Regions from separate parts of the Homo sapiens genome. Here region 1 is linked to region 2. Evidence: promoter capture Hi-C in human tissues and cell types (Jung and others, 2019). All regions are on one chromosome and are shown on one strand. Each heading gives the region's core, a stretch centred on a gene start or on the middle of the fragment in contact. The rest is flanking DNA. Distances are from core to core; before and after follow the strand shown.

Region 1 (5,292 bases), core at 1,189-3,688, 170 kb after region 2:
AAAATGGACCATACTGTGGAATAAGAGAGCAGAAAGTCATCTAATCTACTCCCCAGGCTTTAGGCAGCACGGTGTCAAAACCAACCTAGATTTCCAGAATAGATCGTTCTACCACCTCCTCTGGAATTTGAATGCCATCGAATGCAACCTGAGTCTATTTTCTTTTATTCTATGTTGACTGAGGACAACTATTTTCTTGTTTAAAAAAAAACCAAAACATTAAAATAGCATTTTAAGGTTAATTGACAATGTTAATAAGTGGCAAACTTAGGCCTCAAATAGAAGATGATAAGTAACTTGAAATGTTTGGAAAAAGATGATCTATATTTAATAAAACTCCATCAGTGAGTGAAAAGTTTCATTATTAGCATTTTCACTGTTCTGTCTCTCATAGTCTACAGTTATATTAGCAAACTTGCATTTCACTTTATGGAAACTTGTCTCCATTATGATTTAGTTCAATGGTTTCCTTCTCATACTATTTCAGCTAGAGAGTCATTTCATTATGCTGGGAAGTTTCTGAACATGTAATGTAATTAATTCCTTTAATAGACTCCTCTTTATGGAAGACCCATTAGTAGACATCACTGTGAATTAACATCTTAGTCCAGGAAAAAAGCTCTTTGGAGGCAACAGTGAAACAGCTAAATCTTTGTTGAGAGATGCGACCAGAGGATTTAACCGCATTCCTTGTGGTTTCAGAATGACATGCATATTCTGGGACCCACAGATAGGGAGAGATACTTGTCATTCTCAGTAATGCCCTGACCACACCAATTCTTTAACATACAGAGATAGTTCTAAATGTTATAATTTCTTAGAAGAAAACATCATGGGGTTGTGCACATTGAAGGCAGGGGAATGAAGTGAAAATCTGCCCACTGGCTAATGCCTATGAAGTAAGGCTACTGGCTTTCTTTTAACTGACAAGTTAAAAGTACACTTGAAGGCTTCTGGACAACTTCCTTCTATATCAACCTACTAAGGATTGGTCTTCCCTCTGAATCTCGATGAATAGCAATGAACTCTTTCTGTGTGGGTCTGAATATTTTCTTATATTATTTTTACATATGATCACTGGAAGCCGATTGTTCTGAGTTCAAAATTCTGACTTTGCTATGTACTAACTGTGTGACCTTCATCAAGTGATTTAACTTCTCTGTATCTTAGATATCTTATCAGAAATTGAGATAAAAGCAGTACCTGCTTCAGTTGGTGAAGAGGATTAAATGAATGAGCACATGTAGGTGCTTAATGGAGTGTCTGGCCTGGAGTAAGTGCCACTGATGTTGACTGGTATTGTGATTAACTCTGCTGAGTGGAGGTCCCACCACGGGCATGCAGGCCTGTAACACGAAAGCTGAAAAACTCTGACAAAGCAGAGGAGTTGGTGCCTGGGCCTGGGGAGGGTGGGCTGGCGGCAAAGGGACACAAGGGAACTTCTGGGGTGACAGAAATACTCTATATAGTGGTTACCCCAGTGTAAGTTAAAAAACATTCAAACAATTGTTTCCCTGATTATCCCATTTAATATACTAGTCCAGGCTCTAATCGCCTTACATCTGTATTAATGCAATAGTCTCCTGGTTGATTTTTCTGTCCCTGAGCTCTTTCTTTTTTAATTCCTCCTTGGCGTACCCATGCTCACTCCCATTTCTGGGGCTACTTCAATAATCATGCCTAGAACAGTATATGAGCCATTTGTTTAAAAGGGAGGGAAAGAAATAAATGTGCGTAAGCAAGTATGTTTGCTTGTTTATGCCTAAAATAGCTCTGGAAAGACATATGAGAAAGCGTTTATGTTAGTTCCCTATGGGGAAGGAAACTGGATGGCTGAGGGACTGGGTGGGAGGGAGGTTTTTCTTTATATATCCTTTTGTTCCTTTTGAATTTTAAATCATGTGAATGTATTACCTGATCAAAAATAAATAAATAAAAATAATAAAACCCTACCGAGTTAATCTATTCATTCAACACATATTTTATTTTTGTTTATTTGTTTATTTTTTAAAGATGGAATCTTGCTGTGTTACCCAGGCTGGTCTCAAACTCTTGGGCTCAAGCAATCCTCCCGCCTCAGCCTCCTGAGTAGCTGGGACAACAGACACACACCACTGCACCCAGCTCATTCAACAAATATTTACTGGTTATCTATCACTTGTCAGGCACATAGCAGGGTTAGGGTGTCCACAGCCATGATTGTGTTTCATTGGCAGATCCTTCATAAACTGCACGTCACCAGCCCTGTCGCTTGTTTAGCTTTAAAGCTTGCTTTTAGGAGATAGAAAGTCCACTGGTTAATCACAGTGGCCATGGCTGGCATCTGATTTAGGAAAAAACAAGGTCAGGGTCAATTATGCTACAAAGGACCTCCCTCCACATACTGAAAAGACGTAAAAAGCTGTAGAAGTGGCAAGGGTATCAGATGATACCTCATAACTAATGTTTATTGAACATTAACTTTCTATGTGCCAGCTATTCTTCTAAGTGCTTTTCCTGTATTAACTCATTGAGCTCTCACAATAGCTCTGTGAGAAAGACACTACTATTGCCCCCATTTCACAGATAAGGAAGCTGATGTACAGAGATAGCAAGTAAAACATTAAAATTGTCGAACAGAGTCATACAGCTAGTAAGTAGGGTGACCAGGGTTTGAACCCAGATAACGTCTAACTCCAGAACCCTCAGTTTTAACCACTTTGCTGCCTTTTGGAAAAAGGATTGATAAAATGTTCCTTTGCTCTAAAATCTCCATTGAAATTCAACTATTTATAGAAGTGTCACTGAGTTTTATAGCTAGAAGAGACTACAGTATTCAGTTGGTTCAATTCTTATCCGAATGGACATCTTGCACAACTAGTCTTGAACACTTCCGGTGATAAGGAACTCATTACAGCCAGAAGCAGTCACCATCTGACAGTTTTCATTGCTATCAAAAACAGTCAAATGTTGATTGCCTTCCATGTGCCAGGCAATTTGCTAGAGCATTGGGGGAAAATTCTTTAATAGGTTGAGGCCAAATCCGCATCCCTGGGATGTCCTCCCATTGGGTCTATGTTCTACGCTTTGGAACAACACAGAATGTGTCTGTGGTTACCTGCATTTTATGACAGACTTTCATAAATTTAAAGACAGCTACAAAGTTCCCTTTAAACTTTCTTCTTCCTTGTTTATTCAGTCTGTTCTCATATCACAATCCCTAGGTGAGATTCATTTTTCTAATTAACAAGCTTCTGTTTTAAAATGCAAATGTGGGAGGGCAGCATATTAAGCTTCGTCTGATGCTTCTCTCCCATTGAACTATCTTGATGGAAAGGGAGTTTCGATTTAGGGAAAGGAGTGGGGAGGGTTCTGAGAACAGAGGCAATTGGAAGCATGGTTCAAGTGCTGGCCCCAGGCTTGCACAGGCTGTTGATGTAGGAGCTCTGGGTAGGCAAAAAGCAGCATAGAAATCCAAACTCCTGAGGCCAGGTGCAGTGGCTCACACCTGTAATCCCAGCACTTTTGGTGGGCAGATAGCTTGAGCCCAGGAGTTCAAGACCAGCCTGGGCAACGTGGCAAAACCCCGTCTCTACAAAAAACACAAAAATTAGCCAAGCATAGTAGCACATGTGTGTAGTCCCAGCTACTTAGGAGGAGGCTGAGGTGGGAGAATTGCTTGAGCCTGGGAAGTTGAGGCTCCACTGCACTCCAGCCTGGGTGATAGAATGAAACCTTGTCAAAAAGAGAAGAGAAGAGAGGGAGGGAGGGTAGGGTAGGGTAGGGTAGGTTAGGGGAGGAGAGGGGAGGAGAGGAGAGGAGAGGAGAGGAGAGGAGAGGAGAGGAGAGGAGAGGAGAGGAGAGGAGAGGGAAGGGAAAGGGAAAGGGAAAGGGAAGGAAGGGAAAGGGAAAGGGAAGGGAAGAAGGGAAGGGAAGAAGGGAAGAGAAGGGAAGAAGGGAAGGGGGGAAAGGAAGGGAAGAAGGGAAGAGAAAAAGGGAAGGGAAGGGAAAGGAAGGGAAGGGAAGGGGAAGAAAGAAGGAATCCTAAGTTCCTGGAGACAAAGTGGACACGCTAAGAGTTAAAAAGCAGCCATCACGATGAGTAGTGACTATATGTGTGCAGGGCAGTTTACTTGAATCCGCTTGCTTAAATCTCACAAAAGTATGAAATAGGTGTAATTATTATTCAGATTTTATAGATCGAATAAACTGGGGGCTAGAGAGATGAAATATCTTATCTAGAAAATGAGAGGTTTTGAATCTAGCAGCCTAGGCTTTTTCTTCACTACCTTGCTAAAAGGAAGATGAAAAACTAACTTTGCTTGCTTACCCTAGAGCCAATTAGTAATTACCCATATGGAACCTAGATGCTCCAGACTTCACCAGCCTTCAGGAGTCCTGAAATACCCAAACAACAACCCCTTAAAATCCACTCTTATACCAGGTTTCTAAGTGTCTGAGACCCCAAGGAATGCTCCACTAGTGCCCCATAGATGTTTCTGGCTATCTCAAGCAGCCTGCCTCTCCACTCCTGCCATGGAAAAACCCATGCACTGCTGAACCTCATGGCACAGGTAAGTCCAGACTAAAATGTTTAATGAGCCTGGGCATGCTGGCTCACATCTGTAATCCCAGCACTCTGGGAGGCTGAGGCGGGCAAATTGTTTGAGCCCAGGAGTTTGAGACCAGCCTGGGCAACATGGCAAAACCTCATCTCTACTAAAAAATACAAAAATTATCTGGGCATGGTGGCATGTACCTGTAGTTCTAGCTACTTGGGAGGCTGAGGTGGGAGGATCACTTGAACCTGGGAGGTCAAGGCTGTAGTGAGCCATGATTGCACCACTATACTCCAGCCTGGGTGACAGAGTGAGACCATCTCAAAATAAAATAAAATAAAAGTTTAATGAGACTTTACTACTTTACTACTAAAGGATCTGGGATAACATGATGGAATTATAACACAGGAAAAAGCCCTGAAGCTGAGTAAATCAGCCTATTACCAGAAACGCTGGCCAATCCCTTTCTCAACATCCTCTATTGAGCAAATCTCATGTGCAACTTCCAGCCAGGTTGCAAAGGAATAGTTTACACATAGCCAGTGGTACCTGTGAGCCACCACCTACTGTAAGACTGAGTTTGCTCCTCCCAGACGGCAAAACTCTAATTGCAGAGATATTGTGCACCCAAGGGGATATTATATGAGCAGATTAGCTCCTTAGGACCTCAAGTCTTGCCATTTCTAAATAGGAATTTGACTTTACCAATGGATAACCCAAGGGCCCATTAATAAAAGCTTTTTTCTTTTTAACT
Region 2 (5,568 bases), core at 2,266-4,765:
CTCAGCCTCCAGAGTAGCTGGGACTACAGGCGCCCGCCACAACACCCAGCTAATTTTTTTGTATTTTTTAGTAGAGATGGGGTTTCACCATGTTAGCCAGGATGGTCTCAATCTCCTGACCTTGTGATCTGCCCGCCTCAGCCTCCCAAAGTGCTGGGATTACAGGCGTGAGCCACCGCGCCCGGCAGGTAAACTTTTATTAAATTTGTATGCTTTTCTCTTGTTAATCTGTTTTTAAAATTTTATTTCATTTATTTATTTTTTAGAGACAGGGTCTCACTCTGTTGCTCAGGCTGCAGTGCAGTGGTGCTGTCATAGCTCATTGTAACCTTTAACTCCTGGGCTCAAGTGATCCTCCCCCTCAGCCTCCTGAGTAGGTAGGACTACAGGTGGGTGCCACCGCACCTGGCTAATTTTTTTGTTTTTTGTAAAGACAGAGACTTGCTATGTTGCCCAGGCTGGTCCTGGCCTCTTGGCCTCAAGCAATCTTTTCGTCTTGTCCTCTCAAAGTGCTGGGATTATAGGCGTGAGACACCTTAATCTTTTATTAAACTTGCAATGAGTGAGGAAAATATATTACTTTTTCTCCCCTACACATTAAAAAGAGTAAAAATAAAGGTCAATTAACTTTAATTTTAACAGCATATTTTATTTAACCCAATATACCCAAAACATTATCATTTCAACATATCAATATAAAATTATTAAGGAGATTTTTAACATTTTTATGGTATTAAGTCTCAAAATCTAATGCCTGTTTGACAACACATGGCCATTTGGACCAGAAACCATTTCAAATGTTCAAAATCTGTGTTGGCTGGTAGCTACTGTATTGGACGGTGCAGAGGGTTGGATGCTGTGTGTGCATTCAGCAAATGAGGACTGAGTATCTGTTCCATACCAGGCACTACGTCAAGACCAGGAACACAGCAGGGCACAAGGAGCCCTGTCCTCCAGGAACTACCAGTGATATCTGAGGGTCTCCGCAAGGGGTAAGCTTGTGTGTGCCAGTTTCACCCATGGGATATCACCCAAGGGATACGTGTCTGCCCCATGATACTCACAACACACATGCCCACATCCTACACTCCTGTTGTCTTGGCAACTGCCAATGAACTACTGCTGCCCAAGAGATTTTATGTCTCCAAGGAGGGAGGCAGAAACAAAGGCAAAATAACACACGGAAGTATTCTGGGTTTCCTTCCTGGAATGGGCATGAAAGAAATAAAGAAATCAAGAAGCCCCCAACCTGGGAGAAAGTGTATTCAGGTGGCAAAGCATCTGGAATTCATAAGCTTGCTTGTGAAGGCACCAGGAAACACTGATCTGTTCACCTTCAAATAACTATAGCTGCCACATGGGGCCATCCTGGATATCAACTCCCAGTAGATCCTGGATCAGATAAGCAGCAGCAAATGCCCAAGTGTCAGGAAAATCCAAGATGACCTTATGTTGTTTCTTCTGAAAATTGAAGTCATGCAGATACAAGCATAGTTTAAGAAGTACTTTATGTGTGTGTCAAGTGAAGAAGCACTTGACGTGAGCTCTTTCTGCAATTCCTGGGTCTTGAGTGGAACCCTCAGTCTGAAGCTGCCAGCCCGGCACTGTACCCATGACCACATAGGTGACAGCACTAATTGAGCCCTTAGGGAGGAGCAGCAGCTATCTCTGCCTCTCCTCAATTTCCTGGGGCTCAAGGTGGACTTTTGACTCCCAGAGAAGAGCAGGAGCCTTTCCTGCATTTCCGTTCAACATTCAAGCGCCTTCTCTCTCTCAGAACTAGTACCCTAACCCTACTCGGTAAAGATGATGCCTACTTCCCAGCCAGGGTGCCTGGTGAGATTCAAAGCCACCACCATGAAAACACGGGAAACTCTAAAACCAGCTATGTGGCAGATGTCAGTCTCAAACATGAGATTGTTAATTGCCTGGATCCCTGGGGATACTGAAGGGACTGAGGGCAAAATAACTAACTGCACTAGTAGAGGAATAAGACTGGCTTGAACTTGCATTCCCACTCTACCAACTCCAAACTTCACTGTCCTCATTTGTAAATAGGTTGCTATAAGGAATAAATGACGTAACACATGAAGTGTTGGGCACAGTATCCGGCTCATAGTAAATGACCAATACATCCCAGCTATCATTATTCTACATTAATAACAACCATGACACACAGCTACGATGTGTGTGGGGGGAGGGGGAAGACTTGAGAGAGCAACCTTTCCTATCACTCCCTCATTTCACAGGTGAGGAAACTGAAGTCCAGGAACAGGTTCGGAGCCAGCTCCCCGCTTTCCAGAGTTGAGGAGAGGAGGAAGGAGAGAGGGGGGAATCGCAGGAGAGGGAGAGAAGCCGGCGGGATTCGAGGTAGGCCTCTGGGGAGCGAGCCGCATAGCTTGCAGGGCTGCATCTGTGAGAGTGAGGGGTGAAGCCTAAAGCAGCAGCCCTGCGTGATGGCTCATGCGTGTAATCCCAGCACTTTGGGAGGCCAAGGCGGGAGGATCGCTTGACCCCAGGAGTTTGAGACCAGCCTGGGCAACATAGGGAGACGTCCTCCCATGTCCCTACAAAAAAAAAAATTTAAAAACTGGCCGGGCGCGGTGGCTCACGCCTGTAACCCTAACACTTTGGGAAGCCGAGGCGGGCGGATCATTTGAGGTCAGGAGTTCCAGACCAGCCTGGCCAGCATGGTGAAACCCCGTCTCTACTAAAAATGCCAAAAAAAAAAAAAAAAAAATTAGCCGGGTGTGGTGGGCGCCTGTAGTCCCAGCCACTCGGGAGGCTGAGGCAGGAGAATCGCTTGAACTCGGGAGGCGGAGGTTGCAGAGAGTCAAGATCGCGCCACTGCACTCCAGCCTGGGTGACAGAGCAAGACCTTGTCTCAGAAAAAAAGAAAAAAGAAAGACAAAGAAAGCAGCAGCCTTGATTTGAGAGGGAGGCCCCCAGTGGGGCTTGAGGGCGGGACTACGGAAGGCAGGGGATGGAAGCAAGAAAAGGCAGGTTCCGTGGGAAAAGCGAATTAAGGGCGTAGGATTTGGAAGCGGGGCTTGGAGGATGTGGGTCTGAAATGAAAGGGGGGACTAAGGGAGTAGGGAAGTGGGGCTCTTAGGCGGTGAGCCTGAGGGGACAGGGGCTCTCCTAAATGAGAGACCAATGGGAGGGAGCTGGGCTCTTGGAAGGCGGGGTCGAAGGGAGCGAGGTACTGGCCTGTGGAGTAAAGGAGCCGCGAGGTGAGTGCGGCGGGGGTCCGGCGGGTGACGTACAACATCTCACCTGTCTTCGGCGTCGCGGCTTCAGCCTTCGTGTCTGGTCGGCTCCCGGAACTGCCCCCGGTGCGCCTGCGGCCACCGGGATCCCCGAAAAGCCCTAGCCGGGCGCTCAGGCCGCTGCCTTGGCAACGGCGTCGGACGCCGCGGTGCCCGCGGGGAGGGGCGGGAAGCGCGTCACGGCGAGGGGACGGTCCCGGAAGTGCGCCAGTCGTACCTTCGCGGCCGCAACTCGCTCGGCCGCCGCCATCTTGCGAGCTCGTCGTACTGACCGAGCGGGGAGGCTGTCTTGAGGCGGCACCGCTCACCGACACCGAGGCGGACTGGCAGCCCTGAGCGTCGCAGTCATGCCGGCCGGACCCGTGCAGGCGGTGCCCCCGCCGCCGCCCGTGCCCACGGAGCCCAAACAGGTACCTCTCCCCCGCCCCTCAGCCTGCAGCCGGAGGGTTGGCCTGGGCGCTCCTTACTCGCACAGGAATAAGCGGCCGGCCGCTATGAAGGGCTTGGAGGGACTGCAAGTCCCAAGAGGCTGCGCGCTTCCCGCGCTATGGTGGTGTTCTGGTAGCGAAATGAGCCACCCTGAACGGGATTCTCTAAGTGGTCCGCGGAGCAGCCCCGTCGGCACGAGCCGGGAGCTTCTTAGAAATGTGGAGTCTCCGCCGTAGATCTTTTAAATAGGAATCTACATTTGAACAAAATCCTAAGGTGATTGATTTATAAGTGCGAGAGGCGCTGATCCAGCCCATCCTCTGATCTTATGTAGCAGTTGGGGCCGCCGGCCACAGCCTTTCCCCAGTAATGGCTAATTTCCCAGCCTGCACGGTACATCTTTGGATGTTAATTCTCAGCATCTATTTCGGTGTCTGCCCCAAGCCAGACACCGTGCCAGGCTCCCACATTACCGGAATGAATGGGGCATGGTCCCTGCCTAGGGAGCTCACAGGCTAACGAGAAGACAGACATATGAGAATGCTCACCAAATGTTTGTTGTCCCAATGGCCATCGATGATACAGTGCCAGCCCGCCCTTAATAAAGCTCTCCAATCTCGAATGTGCACAAACCATTGTAGTATGGTGTGATATGCCCTGTGATAGAAGTTTCAGGTACAAATCTAATGAACATTGTTTGCTGGGCTAGAAGGGATATTAAGGTAGGGAAGCCCACAAGAGTGAGAGGTAAATTTCTTTTAGAAGAAGGAATAGGAGTTTGCCAGGTAGGTGACTAGGGAAGGGAAATAGCATCCTTTATTCATCCAGCAAATATTTATTGAACACATACGCTGATCATTGCTTTGGGTTCAGAATAAGGGGGGCGGGGGGGGGGAACATGACTGAAGAAGCCATGCCTTTTCCACAAATATTTAAGTGCCCGTGTGTCCCTGGCATTTTCCCAGGCATTGGGGGAAAATAAGGTAATAGCCAGATAATATGCGCAAAGACACCGAGGTGAATCAAACGGTGTCTCTGATCAAGAGTAAATGAACAAGTGTTGAAGCATAGACTTAGGAGCGTAGTGGCAGGAGATGCGATTCTTACTTAGGATTTGAACTTTTCCTTGTAGACAGTGGGAAGAAAAGGGAGTGTTTTAAGCCAAATAGTGACATTTGTGTTTCAGAAATTCAGGTAGGCAGACGTGTGGAGAATCACTATGAGGGGAGGCCAGTCACGCTATTCCAAAGAGGCTGAAGGCCTGGCCGAGATTAGGGCAGAGGGGGTAGGCAGGCTCTTCAGCCAGAGTGGTGTGTTAGAATCCTGGTTCTGCCAGTTGGACATTAAGCTCTCCATCTCTCAGTTTTGTCATCTGTAATGTGGAGATATTAAGAGTTCTTGGCCGGGTCCAGTGGCTCACGCCTGTAATTCCAGCAGTTTGGGAGGCCGAGGCAGACAGATCACTTGAGGTCAGGAGTTTGAGACCAGCCTGGCCAACATAGCAAAACTGTCTCTACTAAAAATAAAAAATTAGCCAGGTGTGGTGGTGCATGTTTGTAATCCCCACTATTCGGGAGAGAATTGCTTGAACCTGGGAAGCAGAAGTTGCAATGAGCCAAGATCATGCCGCTGCACTCCAGCCTGGGCGACAGCAAGAGACTGTCTCAAAAAAAAAAAGAGTACTTAATCTTATAGGCTTCTTCTAAAGGTTATAAGAGTTAATATATTTAAAGTGCTTGGGAAAAATACCTGGGATCTACTCATAGCTTGATAAAAGTTTTTTTTAAGAGACCGGGTGTCGTTCTGTCACCCAGGCTGGAATGCAGTGGTGCAGTCATAGCTTACTGCAGCCTTGAATTCTTGGGCTCAA

What was found. Contacts are between HindIII fragments. The study calls those that stand out against the background at their distance.
Region 1: a fragment that was not itself captured here is called in contact with the fragment with the promoter of SF3A1 in region 2 in 1 of the 25 tissues and cell types used here (spleen).

Annotation. Positions count from the first base shown.
Region 1 is chr22:30,179,478-30,184,769 of GRCh38, reverse strand. It overlaps LOC105372988 (a long non-coding RNA gene), which reads left to right. Exons shown (of 3, transcript NR_188588.1): 3 at 1-1,952. It also overlaps a transcript of HORMAD2 not described here. Among named protein-coding and RNA genes, the nearest start is that of LIF-AS1, 57 kb to the left of the region's middle. The HindIII fragment of the contact is 3,672 bases long and covers 603-4,274 here.
Region 2 is chr22:30,354,841-30,360,408 of GRCh38, reverse strand. It overlaps SF3A1 (splicing factor 3a subunit 1), which reads left to right and starts at 3,515. Exons shown (of 16, transcript NM_005877.6): 1 at 3,515-3,679. The coding sequence starts at 3,617. CCDC157 (coiled-coil domain containing 157) reads right to left here and starts at 3,402. Exons shown (of 12, transcript NM_001017437.5): 1 at 3,277-3,402. RefSeq lists an enhancer at 2,034-2,633 and a silencer at 3,569-3,818. The HindIII fragment of the contact is 21,616 bases long and covers 1-5,568 here.